2 separate regions of the Homo sapiens genome follow, and region 1 is linked to region 2. Evidence: promoter capture Hi-C in 16 types of primary human blood cells and fetal thymus (Javierre and others, 2016). All regions are on one chromosome and are shown on one strand. Each heading gives the region's core, a stretch centred on a gene start or on the middle of the fragment in contact. The rest is flanking DNA. Distances are from core to core; before and after follow the strand shown.

Evidence for each region. The method cuts DNA at HindIII sites, captures the fragments that hold promoters and counts their contacts. A CHiCAGO score of 5 or more calls a contact.
Region 1: the fragment with the promoter of FAIM2 here is called in contact with the fragment with the promoter of AQP5 in region 2 in 7 of 17 cell types (M2 macrophages, M0 macrophages, endothelial precursors and 4 more); the score reaches 11.4 in M2 macrophages.

What each region holds. Positions count from the first base shown.
Region 1 is chr12:49,902,301-49,909,625 of GRCh38, forward strand. It overlaps FAIM2 (Fas apoptotic inhibitory molecule 2), which reads right to left and starts at 1,600. Exons shown (of 12, transcript NM_012306.4): 1 at 1,478-1,600. The coding sequence starts at 1,492. LINC02396 (long intergenic non-protein coding RNA 2396) reads right to left here. Exons shown (of 2, transcript NR_146570.1): 2 at 6,582-6,813. The HindIII fragment of the contact is 12,443 bases long and covers 1-4,076 here.
Region 2 is chr12:49,958,047-49,965,136 of GRCh38, forward strand. It overlaps AQP5 (aquaporin 5), which reads left to right and starts at 3,826. Exons shown (of 4, transcript NM_001651.4): 1 at 3,826-4,334; 2 at 5,446-5,610; 3 at 6,046-6,129; 4 at 6,946-7,090. The coding sequence starts at 3,972. AQP5-AS1 (AQP5 and AQP2 antisense RNA 2) reads right to left here and starts at 4,737. Exons shown (of 3, transcript NR_110591.1): 1 at 4,621-4,737. It overlaps AQP2 (aquaporin 2), which reads left to right. Exons shown (of 4, transcript NM_000486.6): 4 at 1-832. LOC105369764 (a long non-coding RNA gene) reads right to left here. Exons shown (of 3, transcript XR_001749143.2): 3 at 6,456-6,873. The HindIII fragment of the contact is 7,065 bases long and covers 138-7,090 here.

The DNA.
Region 1 (7,325 bases), core at 350-2,849, 58 kb before region 2:
AACAAAAAGCCCGGCTCTCAGAAAATGGGATTTAGGTCTGGTTCCCAGAAGACTGTGTTAGACCTAAAGGGCCACTGAGGAAGACTGCGGACTTCCTTCTTTGCAGGGAGCATCTGGCTGAGGCAGCCTGGAGACAGGCACGCACCAGAAGACTTCTGGTTCCATCCAGGCCCAAGGACCACTGAACTGGAGCGGTCTTCTCCATCCCCCAGCAAGCCTGTGCGTGAGCTGGGGACAAGGGGCAGAGGAGGCAGAGGTCCCCCTCACACCAGGAAGGGAACAGCGCCACTAAAGGGCCTGGTGGAGGCAGGGTGGAGGTGGAAGGAGACTCAGCAGAAGGGGTGAGTTCTCCATGTTTACGGAACTGAACACTCCCCAGGCCTCCCACTGCCTCCCACTCCCCAGCCCCCCTCATCACCCGGATCTGAAGGATCATGTCCACCTAAATCGAGTTCAGCCTCCACCCTGCCACTCCGCCCCCCAGAGCCTCCTGGACCCTAATGCCCAGGCCCCCGACACACATACGGCACTCCCAAGTGAGGTGTGACCAATGGCGGGAGGTGGTATCACCCAGTGACATCATTTGAGGCCCAAAGAGCTTGCATACAGGGAGAGGAGGGTCTGAGGGTCCAGGGAAGGATGTCATTGGCTCTGAAGCTCCTCTCAAAGAGAAGAAGGGGGAGTGTAGGGGAGGTCCTTCCCCTGTTTTCTCTGCCCAATCCTTAGCAACCCAAACAGAGGGCCCGAGTACCCTCCCCCTTAGCCCCAGGCCCTAGTGGTTGTATAATTCCACAGGCTATTGATGTTACATAAGCCTACTAGGCCAGCCGAGTCTCTGCCCCAGCCCCTCCCCTACAATTCAGGCCTAAAACTGGAGAAGAGATGCTTCATCCGGACCCATCCATGCCTGGCCAAAACCAAAACAACAATTAGAGCATCTTGATGCAGAGTTGTCATAGCAAGCCCCAAGCACAGGGATGGAGCCAAGACGCCCAGATGTGGAACAATGGCAGGGAGTAGGGTGGGGGTTGTTTCCGTGGAGGGTGGGAAAGATGAGCATAAAGTGGTTGGGTTTGGGACTGGAGGGTTGGGCCAGAGGGGGTTGCCCGATAGGCACTGCCCCTCAGGGCTCACCCTGGCACACACATACCCATGCACACACATACAGTCACACCAGACGCCCGGGCTGACTCCTCACGGGGGGCCTGGGTATCTGTGAGGAGCCTTGTAATGCTGTAATGCCAAAGCAGGGGTGGCAGGGTGACAGGGGAGGAGAGGCGCGCCTGCGGGCAGGAAGAGGCCTCGGTCCATTCCTTGACACCGGCCTTTCGGTCCTCTGACTTCAGCAAGGACCACGGAGGACCTTCAAACTAGGGCCAGGGGAGGATGCTTTCGTGGTCCAGAGGGCTTGCTGAGGATGACAGGGAGCCGGGAGCCGGAGGATGGAGGATGGTGCAGGCTGGGGAGATGCCGGTACCTTTCCCTGGGTCATGGTGCCGTCTCTCGGGGAAGGGGTCCCTGAGGCCCGGGTGGCCGCTTGGGTAACCGCAGCCTGCCTGCGTCTCTTCCTTCCTCCGCGTGGGTTCTAGCAACATCCACTGCAGCCGGGCCAGGCGAGCCGGCGCGTACCATCGGCGCGGGGGGAGGAGAGGGCCGGGCCTGGGAAGATGCTGCGGAGGACGCTGCGGATTCGCGAGCCCGGGGTAAGGCGGCGGCGCACCGCCCCCTCCCGCCGCTTCCCCCCCACCCCGCCCCCCACCGCCGCCCTTAGCCCTCCCCCGGGATGAGAGAGAGTCGCGCTGCGGAGCAACCCCAGTGGATGGGTCCGCGGGGGCTGAGCGGGCGGAGGACGCGGGAACTCCGTGACACCGACCAGCTGACGCTGCCCGCGTGAAACCAGAGCCGGGCATCAGGGCCTCATCTCCACTGTCTCTGCACCTCTCTGCAGCTCCAGCTGCGCCTCTGCCTTTTCCTCCTCCCTCTTTGGATGCGGCCCTGATTTCTGTCTCCATCTCCACCTCCCCTCTCATCATCTATTTCATCATCCCTGGTAGAGGGGAAGGTCTGGAAGTCTCGCCTGTGCTGCCCGCTTCTAACAGGGCCCCTGGGCCCTGCGCTCCTGTGGGCCTGGGGCAAGCCAATAGCCACCTATCCTTGCTCCTTTTTCTCGCCTGTGAAATGCACACAGTAGGTCCCTCCCTGCCTTGGTTCACAGAGACATGGGGTGGGAGGACACCTCTTCTGTTTCTTTCAGCCCTGCTGGGACATTTCACGGGGTCTTTCTGGAGACACCGCTAGTTCTGTCTCAAAGCCTCTACAACCCCTGCCAGAGCTCTCTTCCTGCCTCCACGCTTAGCTTCCATCACCCCGTCTCCATCTTCCCCCCTTTTCCATTCCTCCCATGCCAGAGCTCGTTCTCCCCGCTTCCCCAGACGTGTCACTGGGACCCAGCCATCATCAGGCCCCGTTTTCTGTAGCTGCTGCAGTGTCACTATGGGGTTTGCAATCTCAAGAGCTGGGATCAAGTCCCAATTTAGTCACCCACTGGCCGCGTGGCCTTGGCAAGGCCCTTAACCTCTCTGAGCTGCAGCTCCTACGAAAAAGAGGCTTAGAACAGAGCTCTGTCCATCCTAGATTGACTGTCAGACGCACAGGTTATGGCCGTAAAAGCACATAAAAGACCAAGAAGTGCTGGAAGTATGTGAGGTATTATTAACTGAGGAGTCTCCTACCAGAATGTCCTGGGCTGCCCCAGAGCGAGCACCCACAAATCTGCCTAAAAGAAGTATCTGAACCTGCTAGGATGGGACGAGAAACTAAGACCTGGGACAGGTGGGGGTGGCCACTTACCTTCTGCTTCCCTCTCACTGCCCAGGGACCCACCTAAAGTCCCTGAGAAAGCAGGGCCCAGGTAGGCAGACAAATTATCAAAGTCTTTTTTTTTTTTTTTTTTTTTTTTTTTACAGAGAAAATCTTGTTCTGTTGCTCAGGCTGGAGTGCAGTGGCACAATCTTGGCTCACTGCAACCTCTGTCTTCCGGGTTCAAGTGATTCTCCTGCCTCAGCCTCCTGAGTAGCTGGGATTACAGGCGCGCACCACCACGCCCGGCTAATTTTGTATTTTTAGTAGAGACAGGGTTTCACCATGTTGGCCAGGCTGGTCTCCAACTCCTGACCTCAAGTGATCCACCCTCCTCAGCCTCCCAAAGTGCTGGGATTACAGGTGTGAGCCACCGTGCCTGGCCTAATTATCAAAGTCTTTATCCCACCCCTTTTTGCCCTTTGTCCCCCACTCCATAACCACCAATTTTGCACAAACACACTTAAGCCTGGGCCTCCGTGTCCAGAGGCTCTCTCAACCCTACAAACCCGAGCTCTTCTTCCAGCAAGCTGTGCCCTGGTCCCCAGCACTGCACCTGGAGCTCTGACCAGCTGGTCCAGGTTCTGGCCTTCCCTCCTTCTCTGCATCTGCATCCTGGAAGTGTTTTCCTTCTCCTGCTTGACAGCTTGAATGCCACCTCCTCCAGGAAGCCTCCTTCCCCCCCTAGTTGGGGTTAGATGCTCCTCTTCTGTAGTTCCCTAGCACCCTGATGTAACGCCTGTCACGTGGCGCTGTGAAGTTTCTTTGACTGACTCCCTGTTACACTCTAAGCTCCTGTAGCAGTTTTGGTGTGAGCTGGACTGAATGCAGTGCCAGGTGTGTGGAATGCACTCCATCAATTGTAGCTAGTAATATTTCCCAGACATGGCACTACGCAGAGCCTGACTTTCATCAGCCTTAGCACTTTCATGTTTGTGAATCACTCCTGTTCCTTCTCTCGCATTCACTCTGCTCCAGCCACACAGGCCTCTTGGCCATTCCTTAGACTGGGCTGAGCATGCGCTTAGCTGAGGCCCTTTGCACTGGCTGTGTCTTGTTTGGAAATTCTACAGATCATTGCGTGGCTCCCTCCCTCACTAACTTCACTACTCTGCTCAGACATTATCTCAGGGGTGGTCTTCCTGATCTTATACAAAGTAGCAGTGCCACCCGCATACCCCCACCCAGCAAATTGGACAGTCCCTTTTTTCTGATTAAGCTTTATGTTTTCTATGTCAATTGTCACCTCTGACATGTTTTGTTTTGTTTTGTTTTGTTCTCTCTCTCTCTCCCATTAGAACGTCAGCTACAGAAGAGGAGGAGTTTGGGGGTGTTGTGTCATTGCTTTACACCTGTGGGTTAAAATAGTGACTGACATGGATGTGGTGGGTTGATAAGTATTTGGTTGAGTAAAGTACAGCATTATACAAAATCCTTATATTCCTCAGACATGTTGACATTGTCAGTGCTATGATGTTTCTCAGATGTTGGACTCTATTACCTTGACATTGTGTATATGTCCCCCCAACTTTTTTTTGAGACAGGGTCTCGCTGTGTTGCCTAAGCTGGAGTGCAGTGGTATGATCATGGCTTGTTACAGTCTGAATTTCTGGGCTCAAGCATCCTCCTGCCTCAGCCTCCCAAGTAACTAGGGTATATGTTCCCATGAGGTGGTCTTTGGATATTACTCAAAAAAATTTTTGTTTTGAGGTGTAGTTTTGCTCTTGTTGCCCAGGCTGGAGTGCAGTGGCACGATCTCAGCTCACTGCAACCTCCGCCTCCCAGGTTCAAGCGATTCTCCTGCCTCAGCTTCCTGAGTAGCTGGGACTACAGGCGCACACCACCACGCCTGGCTACTTTTCCTATTTTTGGTAGAGACAGAATTTCACCACGTTGGCCAGGCTGGTCTCGAACTCCTGACCTCAGGTGATCTGCCCGCCTCAGCCGCCCAAAGTGCTGGGATTACAGGCATGAGCCACCGTGCCCAGCTGACATTACTCAAATATTAAACATTCGTGTAACATTCCTCTGGGATCTGGTGATAGTTAGGTGTGGTAGTCAAAAGCCAAGGCTACACAGTCAAGCAGCTTTGCTCCAGATCCCGGCTCCTCTATTTAAAAGCTGTATGAGAGCTTGTGAGAGATGAGTTGTGAAAGTTGTGAGAATGAGGAGAGTTAGGATTTGTAAGGCACTTAGAACAGAACCAGGCATCTAACACATGCTCTATGCATGTTTGATGACTATAAGCACACAATAAGCTCTTGGTGTTAGCTATTAGTGTTAGCCTTAAGGGTTCCACAAATATTGTTTAATGAAATAATTTCCACCACATAAGGCAGCTCAGTTCCACAGTTACTCATTTGTTCATTCATTTGTCATGTCTGTGGTCTCTGTCCCTGTTGACACATTTGGTAGAAGCCATTCTTCAAGAAGAATGAGATCCCTTCAGACTCACCCCCGGGCAGGAGGGGACAGGCAGTGCTGGGGTGGCTGAGGGCTGGGAGAATAGTGCCTCAAGGGAGTCAGAAACAGTAAGGGGCTCCCCAGGGGAGCTGGGGAGGTTGTTGGGGTAACATCCTCAAATCTCCACCCCATGATAGGCTTTATTCTGTTTGTACAAGGCGGGAAAGTAATGGGGAGTTTCAAGCTTTATTTTATTTTATTATTTATTTAATTTTTGAGACAGAATCTCACTCTATCGCCCAGGCTGGAATGCAGTGGCACAATCATGGCTCACGTCAGCCTCAACCTCCCAGGCTCAAGCGATCTTCCCATCTTACCCTCCCAAGTAGCTGGGACTACAGGCCTGCACCACCATGCCTGGTTAATTTTATTTTTTGTACAGACAAGATCTCACTATGTTGTCCAGGCTGGCCTCGAACTCCTGGGCTCAACCGATCCTTTTACCTCGCTCTCCCAAAGGCTGGGATTACAGGAGTAAGTCACTGTGCCTGGCCTCAAGGTTTTATTGAACATGGAAATGACGTGTTTAAAGTCATGCTTCAGAAAGACCAACCAGGCCAAGCGCAGTGGCTCATGCTTGTAATCCCAGCACTTTGGGAAGCCAAGGTGGATGGATCACCTGAGGTCAGGAGTTCGAGACCAGCCTGATCAACATGGCGAAACCCCGTTTCTACTAAAAATAAAAAAAAATTAGCTGGATGTGGTGGCACATGCCTGTAATCCCAGCTACTCGGGAGGCTGAGGCAGGAGAATCGCTTGAACCTGGGAGGCAGAGGTTGCAGTGAGCCAAGATTGCACTGCTGCACTCTAGTCTGAGCAATAAGAGTGAAACTCAGCCTCAAAAAAAAAAAAAAAAAAAAAAAAGATAAGAAAGACCAACCTCTGTAGTAATTTTTGCTATTACATTGTTTTCTCTTTTTTTCTTTTTTTTTTTTTTTTGAGGTGGAGTCTCACTCTCTCACCCAGGCTGGAGTGCAGTGGTGCGATCTCCGCTCACTGCAACCTCTGTCTCCTGGGTTCAAGCGATTCTCCTGCCTCAGCCTCTCAAGTAGCTGAGATTATAGTCACCACCATCATGCCCAGCTAATTTTTGTATTTTTAGTAGAGACGGGGTTTCACCATGTTTGCCAGGCTGGTCTCGAACTCCTGACCTCAGGTGATCCACCCACCTTGGCCTCCCAAAGTGCTGGGATTACAGGCGTAAGCCACCACGCCAGGCCTAATTTTTCTATTTTTAGTAGACGTGAGGTTTCACCATGTTTGCCAGGCTGGTCATTATATTGTTTTATTAAATAAGGAAGAAGATTTTGTCTGTGAACATGTGGGAGGGATGGAGAGAGGAAGAGATTGAAGGTGCAGCGGTAAGTGGAACTTTAGTGATGGCTCTTGTGGAGGGTCAGAGCCCGGCTCTGGAGCAGGCTGCGTGGGTCCCAATCCTGGCCCTGCACAAGACGCTTGACTTCTCTGTGCCTCAGTTTCATCCTCTGTAAACTGAAGGTTGTGAGAATGAGGAGAGTTAGGATTTGTAAGGCACTTAGAGCAGAGCCAGCCATCTAACACATGCTGTAAACATGTTTGATCACTAGAAAATAAGACACGTGATCCAGGGGCAGAAAAGATGGAGAAAAGGGACAGCATGGGACAGGACCGACAGGACTTGGGAAGACAGTAGAAGTGAGAGAAAGGCAGAAGGGGCATCAAAAAGGGCAAAGGTGTGAAGACTGAGTCCCTGGGAGAATGATACCATTATGAAAAGGGAAAGGAGCTGAGGTGCTTGGGCGGGGGTCAGGTTGAGTTTGAGGGCCTGTAGGACATCCAGGTGGAGATGTCCTGTAGGCAGTTGGCCAGAGGTTCCTGGTGCCCAGGAGAGAGGTCCGGGCAAGGCCTCCTCCCTGCGCAGCCCCAGGAGGCACCATGCACTGTGTTCAGGGGGAGGACCACATCCCTTCCCGCCCTGGGGCCCAGCCCTGGGGCCCATGGAGTTGAGTGCTGGGCTGGTGGTG
Region 2 (7,090 bases), core at 2,576-5,075:
CAGTTCCTGGCATCTCTTGTGTACCAGCTGCTGTGCTGGGTGCCTTGCATGCACGGACTTATCTGATCTTCCTCAAACTTCAGATAGGTTAGGGAAGGACAAAGGCCCCCAGCCATGAAGGGTTTTGCTATTTCCAAAGCTTCCCCTTATCGTCCCCTGTGATTATCTCCCAACCCCGTGACAAAGGTAGAGCAAATATTGTTCTTCCCATTTTACAGATTCAGAAACCAAGGCTAAGGGACTGGTCTAAAGTCTCACAGGTAGTATATGGTGGAGCCAACACTTGAACTCAGACCTTTTTACACAAAATCCCATGATTTTTCCACTGAGACAAATCCTAGGCTCCTGGGAGGCCCTGGCAGAAGCCAGAACACATGGCTGGGCCTTTCCAGCCCAACCCACTGTCTTGCAGTGGACGGAGAGCCTTGGCGAGGGCAGCAGGGTAGAGAGGACAAAGAATGTGGGGCTGGTTTCTGCCCTTTAAGAGCACCCGGTCAGTCAGAGAACAGAGATCACACACACCAAACCAGACAGAGGCAGGGCAGCATGGAGACAGGTAGACAGACCTCCAGGTCCCTAAGCTGGGGACAGAGAAGGTTCTGAGCTGTCCCATACTCCCACTTTGTGCCAAATGACTTTGCACCTGCAAATGGTGCTTCAATGTCGTTTTGTATCTTTAAGCTGTGATGTTGTATATATACAATGCCTCCCAGCTAGACTGTAAGCCCTTTGGGGACAAGGGCTGCTTCCAGTTCTTGGATGGCGTTCTCCTATCTACCTTCCTTCAACTGCTCTGCATATAATAAGCACTCAATAAATGCTCATTTGCCAATAAGTACTGTTTCTTCCACAACTTGGCAGTGGTAATAGAAATACAGCCCAAGGTACCAGAAGACAGGCGGAGCTCCCTACCACTTCTACCCCAGCCCTCAACTTCTCCCAGGGAACTCAGAAGTCCCCATATCAGGAGAGGAGGGGAAGGGCTCTCCCTAAGACATTCAAATTCCCCCTGCCACAAATGGGGAGACCCATCACTCAGCTCACAAAGGTCCCGGGCATTCCTCTGGAGCTGCCAGGGCAGGGCCTGAGTGCTTGGGCAAAGAGAATTCCGAGACATAATGGGAGTTTACTGTGATGACTTGAGGACAGAGGGACTCTAGTGGTTAGAGAGATGGAAGAGCCTAAGACACAGGCCCTAGGAAACAGAATCAGCTGCCCTGTGTGAGTAACCTTGACAGATGAAATCTCCTTCTTTGGCCTCACCAGGCCCACTCCTGATGACCAAGTCTATGTGGCGACCTGTGGTTCCCATCTCAGGTCACTGTGTGACCCTAGGCAAGTGACCTCTGAGTCTGGGTTTCTTCATGGGTAGCTTGGAATCAAATCACACAGTGGAGGCCAATTATAATCTCTAACTTTGTAGATTATATTCTGAATCTCTAAAATGGCAAGAACAAGGTCTTGGCCTTTATAGTCCCTCATTAGTTCAAATCTTCAGGTCGGAGCTTCCCCTGGCAGCCAAGCCTCTTGTGAGCACTTGTGAATCCTTTCATTCTGAGATGCTGGAGTTTGAGACCTGTGGACTATGAAGACAGTGCCTGGGGAGAGAGGATGAGAAAGCAAGTGAAAGGGTGCGAACTGGAGGCAAGTTCAGCAGCAAAGGAGCCTGGCCCCCAATGGCCTCTGGGGTCATCAGGGTCATTGTCCAGCCCAAGTCCCAGGCCCAGAAGAAAATCCTGCGTACAACTGGCATGTACAGCTGGCATGATTGGCTGGGGACAAAGCGCTGGGACCCATGGAAGAAAGGACAGACTGACCTCCGGCCTTAAGAGGAGAGACCTGGGGGAGGAGCTGCTCCAGCAGGAAATGCCAGAGCTGGGCAGGAACAATAGCGGGGTTTCTTTAGCCCTTGTTTTCTTTGGCATCTTAGCTGCCACAGAGCCCAGAGCCCGCTCCTCCAAGTCCTTAGCATTCCTGCAGGCTCCTCCCCTCAGCCCTGCCTGACAAACTGACAGAGGAGGCACCTGTTCTCTACTTCCTCTGCACCCTCCCGCTGGACTCTTCCCCCTAGCTTAGCACCACACTAAACCCTCAAGGGGCTTTTAAAATTAACAGTCACAACGTAAGGAGACTTTACTGAGCCTTACTCTGTGCCAGGCACTGTGCTAAGGGCTTCTCTAACACACATGGGGATGGGAGTCTTTAATGCAGCTCCTCTCCCGGGATCCTGGGGGTGGGTCCTCCCCCTCTAAGCCCTAGAGAGCCCTCCAGCCTCGTTCTCCACATGCCCGACCTGGAGTGGGTGGGAAGAGGGAGAGGGTGGTGTGCGAGGAGGCAGCAGGTCACAAAGGGGTTACAAGCTCAGAGGGAAGGGGGATGGGAACTGGAAGAAAGTGTCACCCAGACCAGGGGTAGAAGAACTTGACTTTGGGGAGACTGAGAAAGACCACATGTAAGAGAGAGAGACATGGAAAATGAGGTAGAAACAGACAGAAACAAAGAAAGGCACAAAAATTAAGAGGCAGAGGAAAGGTGAAAATAGCCAGGAGACAGAAACTGCAGGATGAGAGAAATGAATAGAGAGAGACAGAGAGACTAAGACAGCAAAAGGCAGGAAGGAAAAACAGAAAATGAGAAGGTGTGAGAGAGAGAGAGATGGAGAGGTGGAGAACAGAGAGACTGAAATGAGAAAGAGACCTCTCGGAGAGAGACCGAGAGGAAGAGGCTGGCAGAGGGAGAGGGTCAGAGACCAAAGACAGAGACAAAAAGAGAAATAGGGTTTTGCAAAGACTGACTGACAGAAACAGATTTCGAGGGGAGAGAGATCAAGACCAAGTGAGGGTTTGAAGGAGACTTAGGGGAGGTGGAGGAAGAGAAGGAGAGTCTTAGATCCAGGGTGAGGGGCTTCTAGCAGGAAGAGGGAAGACGCCAAGACCGCGCTTGGGAGGTCAGTGGTGCGTCTCTACCCCCCCTGCTCCCCCACTCCAACTCCCAGAGTCTCAAGGCCTCACGTCACACCCCCGTCCCGTCCCGTCGACAAGGGGAACCCCGGCCTGGGAGAGGGCGCCTCCGGGGATCCGTTGCCTAGTCCAGGTACTGCCCAGCTACCGGGCGTCGAGGATTGCGAAGCGTCGGGGCAGGCTGGCACGGTGCCCACTTTTCCCAAAACGCCAGCCTTCCAAGCCCAGAAGCTCGCCCGGCCCAGGCCGGGAGCGGCCCACGTCGGACGGCCGGACCGCCCTGCAGGACCCAGCCCGGCCGCCCGCCCCCGCCGCCGGCGGTGAGGGAGGTGAGCGGCGCCGACCTGCGGGACGAGCATCACTCCGACCCAGCCGGGGGTGAGGCGGGTCAGGATGCTCCGGTCGCAGGAGGAAAAGGAGGAGCTGGACCAAAAGCCCGAAGAGAAGAAAAGGGGAAGGCCGCGCACGGAGCGCGGTAAAGGCCGGCGGAGCTAGACGCCCCGAGGTCGGAGTGAAGCGCCGGGACCGAGCCCCGTCTCCCAGGGAGTCCGGGGCGCACGGCACCGAGGAGAGCGCGGGAGCCAACCTGGGCGCATCATGCGCAGGGCCCGGGACGCTGGGCCGGTCTACACCGCCGCCTGGGTCACGTGGCCCGGACGGGCCGGCGGCTGCCCCGGCCGGGGGGCGGGGGTCGCGCCGGGGTTGCGCTGGACGACGGAGAGCGGCGGGCCCGCAGCGGCCTGGAGCCTCCCAACCCGCGCGCCGCGCTGGCCCCCGAGCGTAGGAGCCGCCCCCTGCCCCCCCGCGCCGGCCCCGCGCCCGGCCGCCCGCCCCCTATATAGCGCGCCCCAGCAGGGCCCGCGCCAGGCCGCCAGCCTCGGAGTGGGCGCGGGACAGTGCGCGGCGCCCCGCAGCCAGGCCCCCGCCCCCGCCGCATCCACCTCCTCCGCCGCCTGCGACCCAACGGGCGCCCCCCGCCGCGGCAGCTGCCGCCGGGCCCCCGCGGCCACCATGAAGAAGGAGGTGTGCTCCGTGGCCTTCCTCAAGGCCGTGTTCGCAGAGTTCTTGGCCACCCTCATCTTCGTCTTCTTTGGCCTGGGCTCGGCCCTCAAGTGGCCGTCGGCGCTGCCTACCATCCTGCAGATCGCGCTGGCGTTTGGCCTGGCCATAGGCACGCTGGCCCAGGCCCTGGGACCCGTGAGCGGCGGCCACATCAACCCCGCCATCACCCTGGCCCTCTTGGTGGGCAACCAGATCTCGCTGCTCCGGGCTTTCTTCTACGTGGCGGCCCAGCTGGTGGGCGCCATTGCCGGGGCTGGCATCCTCTACGGTGTGGCACCGCTCAATGCCCGGGGCAATCTGGCCGTCAACGCGGTGAGTGCCCTGGGGGGGGGGTGGGAGCCTCGACCCTGGGGTGGGCTCAGGACCAGGCCTCTTACCCCACCTGGAAAAAAGGGGTGCCGCAGAGTGGGCCAGCCCACACCCTTCACCAGGAAGGCAAGAGCCTCCCAAGGCCAGGAAGGCAACTCTCCAGGCTGATATGTGCTCCCTTCCTGCCCACCTCCTCTCCCCCTCCCCTCATGCTGGCCCACCCTGGTCTCTCTCCAATGCCTGCTACCCCTCCTCTCCTGCCAGAAACTTCTGCCTCCTCCTGTCTCACCTTTGAGCTCCACCTTCCTCCTGGGCCCCTCACCTCTCCCATCACCTCAGTGGAGCGGTTGAGTAGAACCACCAGAGAAAAGCGGGCTGTCATCACGGCTTTGGGTGACCCTGGCCTGTCTGTGCTTCATTGTTCTCAGCGCCTCCATGGGGATGGTTGTGTCTGCCACAGCAGGTGTCAAGGGGCTCACATTTAGAAACCGTAGATAGGAACCCCCTAATGTGGGGCCAGTGCAGAGCAGTTTCTGTTGAGTATTGGTTCCCTCTTTCCCCAACCTGTGCTCCTCCCCTCAACCCCGCACCCCTGCCTCCCTCCCACCTCCTGCAGCCCCAGAGTCAGCCCCCAACCCCATGCAAACTGGGTTCATTAATCAAACACAGAGGAGGATTTGCTTGGCCATTGTCAAGCTGTGAGTCAGCCGCACTGGAGAGACGGGTTTAAGGCTGGCACTGGCATGGGGCCAGGCACGGGCAGGAGGCCGGGATGGGGTGTGAGGCAGGCAAACCGGGCAGCTGCCCACAGGATGGAGGGTAAATGCCAGCTTATGGGGGCTGGGGGTTGGGCAGAGCCATTGATAGGCCCGTGTCCAGGAAAAGCTACCCTGACGCTCTGCCCTTTGGCCACAGGCCTGAGCTTCAAGCCTGTGCAAACTATGAAATGTACAGTGTCTTTAACAAATGGCTTCGCTGGGGCGATGTCCACAGGACTTGGCTTCCAGGTGCCAAGGTGCTCTAAGTGTCCCTGGAGGCCAAAAGCCCTACTCCCCGAGCCCCTGGCTATACAGCCAGAAGGTGGCCGGGGTCCTAACCCGCTATCCCCTTGCAGCTCAACAACAACACAACGCAGGGCCAGGCCATGGTGGTGGAGCTGATTCTGACCTTCCAGCTGGCACTCTGCATCTTCGCCTCCACTGACTCCCGCCGCACCAGCCCTGTGGGCTCCCCAGCCCTGTCCATTGGCCTGTCTGTCACCCTGGGCCACCTTGTCGGAGTGAGCAGTACCGACATTGGGCTGGGGTGAGGGTGGGGCAGGCACTCAAGGCAAATAATGGAGCCCTGGAGCGGAGCCCACTTCAGATGGATGAGTCCAGCAGAGTTTAAGGCCTGGATTTAGGGCTCCTGGACTCTGGCCCTACTGGGCCCCAGAATTGATCCCCCCAAAACCTCTGGGCTGAGGAAAGATGGGAGTAAGTAGGAGGTGGGATGGGACAGGAATCAAACCCAACCTCAGAGCAGAGAAGAGAGGAGGGCGTAGTTAAGGGTCCATGGTTAACCAAGCAGCTGGGATCCTTGGAGGGAGAGGTTGCCAGCCTGAGTTTGAGACCTGGCTGAGCCCCTGGACTGCAGTGTAACCTTGAGAGAGTCCAGATTCTGTGGGAGTGGACCAGGATGTTGCCTTTCTCTCCACCGCCCTGTCTCTATCCAGATCTACTTCACTGGCTGCTCCATGAACCCAGCCCGCTCTTTTGGCCCTGCGGTGGTCATGAATCGGTTCAGCCCCGCTCACTGGGTGAGTCTGTCCCTTCCCCTGGCTCCCTGGAGATGAGGGCCTGGAGACCCAGCAGTGGCAGCTCAGAGCTCACCAGACCTGGATTCTGTGGGTCTAGAGCTTGGGGGTGGGCCACGGAGTGGTGGCTGACAGAGAAAGGGACACAGTAGGGGATGGGATTCAGCTAGAGGGGCAGAGGTGGCTTTGTATGGCCTGAACCGCTGGGGACAGGGAGTCTGAGTATCTATCCGCTTATGGAAGAGGCTCTACTGAACCTGGAGGTGCAGAGGGGCTCTGTGTCAATTCCCTTGAGGATTTGGTGTCCGTCCCCCTCGGTGTCTGCGTGCTGGTCCTCTCTGATGTTTTATTTATCTGTCCCTGTTGAGGGGGTTGGGAGAGTCTTCCTGTGGGTCTGTCCCTGTGGACAGTCTGTCTGCCCCCCCTTTGGAAGCTCATGGTCACTCTCTCCAGGGTCTGCTTCTATCCCTGCGTGGAGGGGACACGCGCTCTGTTCATCCGTCTCTCTGAGGACCCACGTGTCCCCTCTGAAGGTTTATTTGCTTCTCTTTCCGGTGTGGTTGGAGGGAGCCTGTCCCTCTGGGAATCTGTTTGCCTTCTTTGAGGGTCTAGGTGTCTGTGGTCCATGTCTCTGTCCCTGGGAGTGGTGTGTCAGTATATTCGTCCCCGAGGTGGGAGGAAGTCTTTCTCCCTGAAGGTCTGGAAGTCTGCATGTCTGTCTCCTCTCAGGGTCCGTGGGTCTGTCCTCTGTGGGGTGGGGGGCATGTGGTCTTCAAGGTCTGGGGCTCAGCGCCCTGACTCCTGCCCTGTCTCCACCAGGTTTTCTGGGTAGGGCCCATCGTGGGGGCGGTCCTGGCTGCCATCCTTTACTTCTACCTGCTCTTCCCCAACTCCCTGAGCCTGAGTGAGCGTGTGGCCATCATCAAAGGCACGTATGAGCCTGACGAGGACTGGGAGGAGCAGC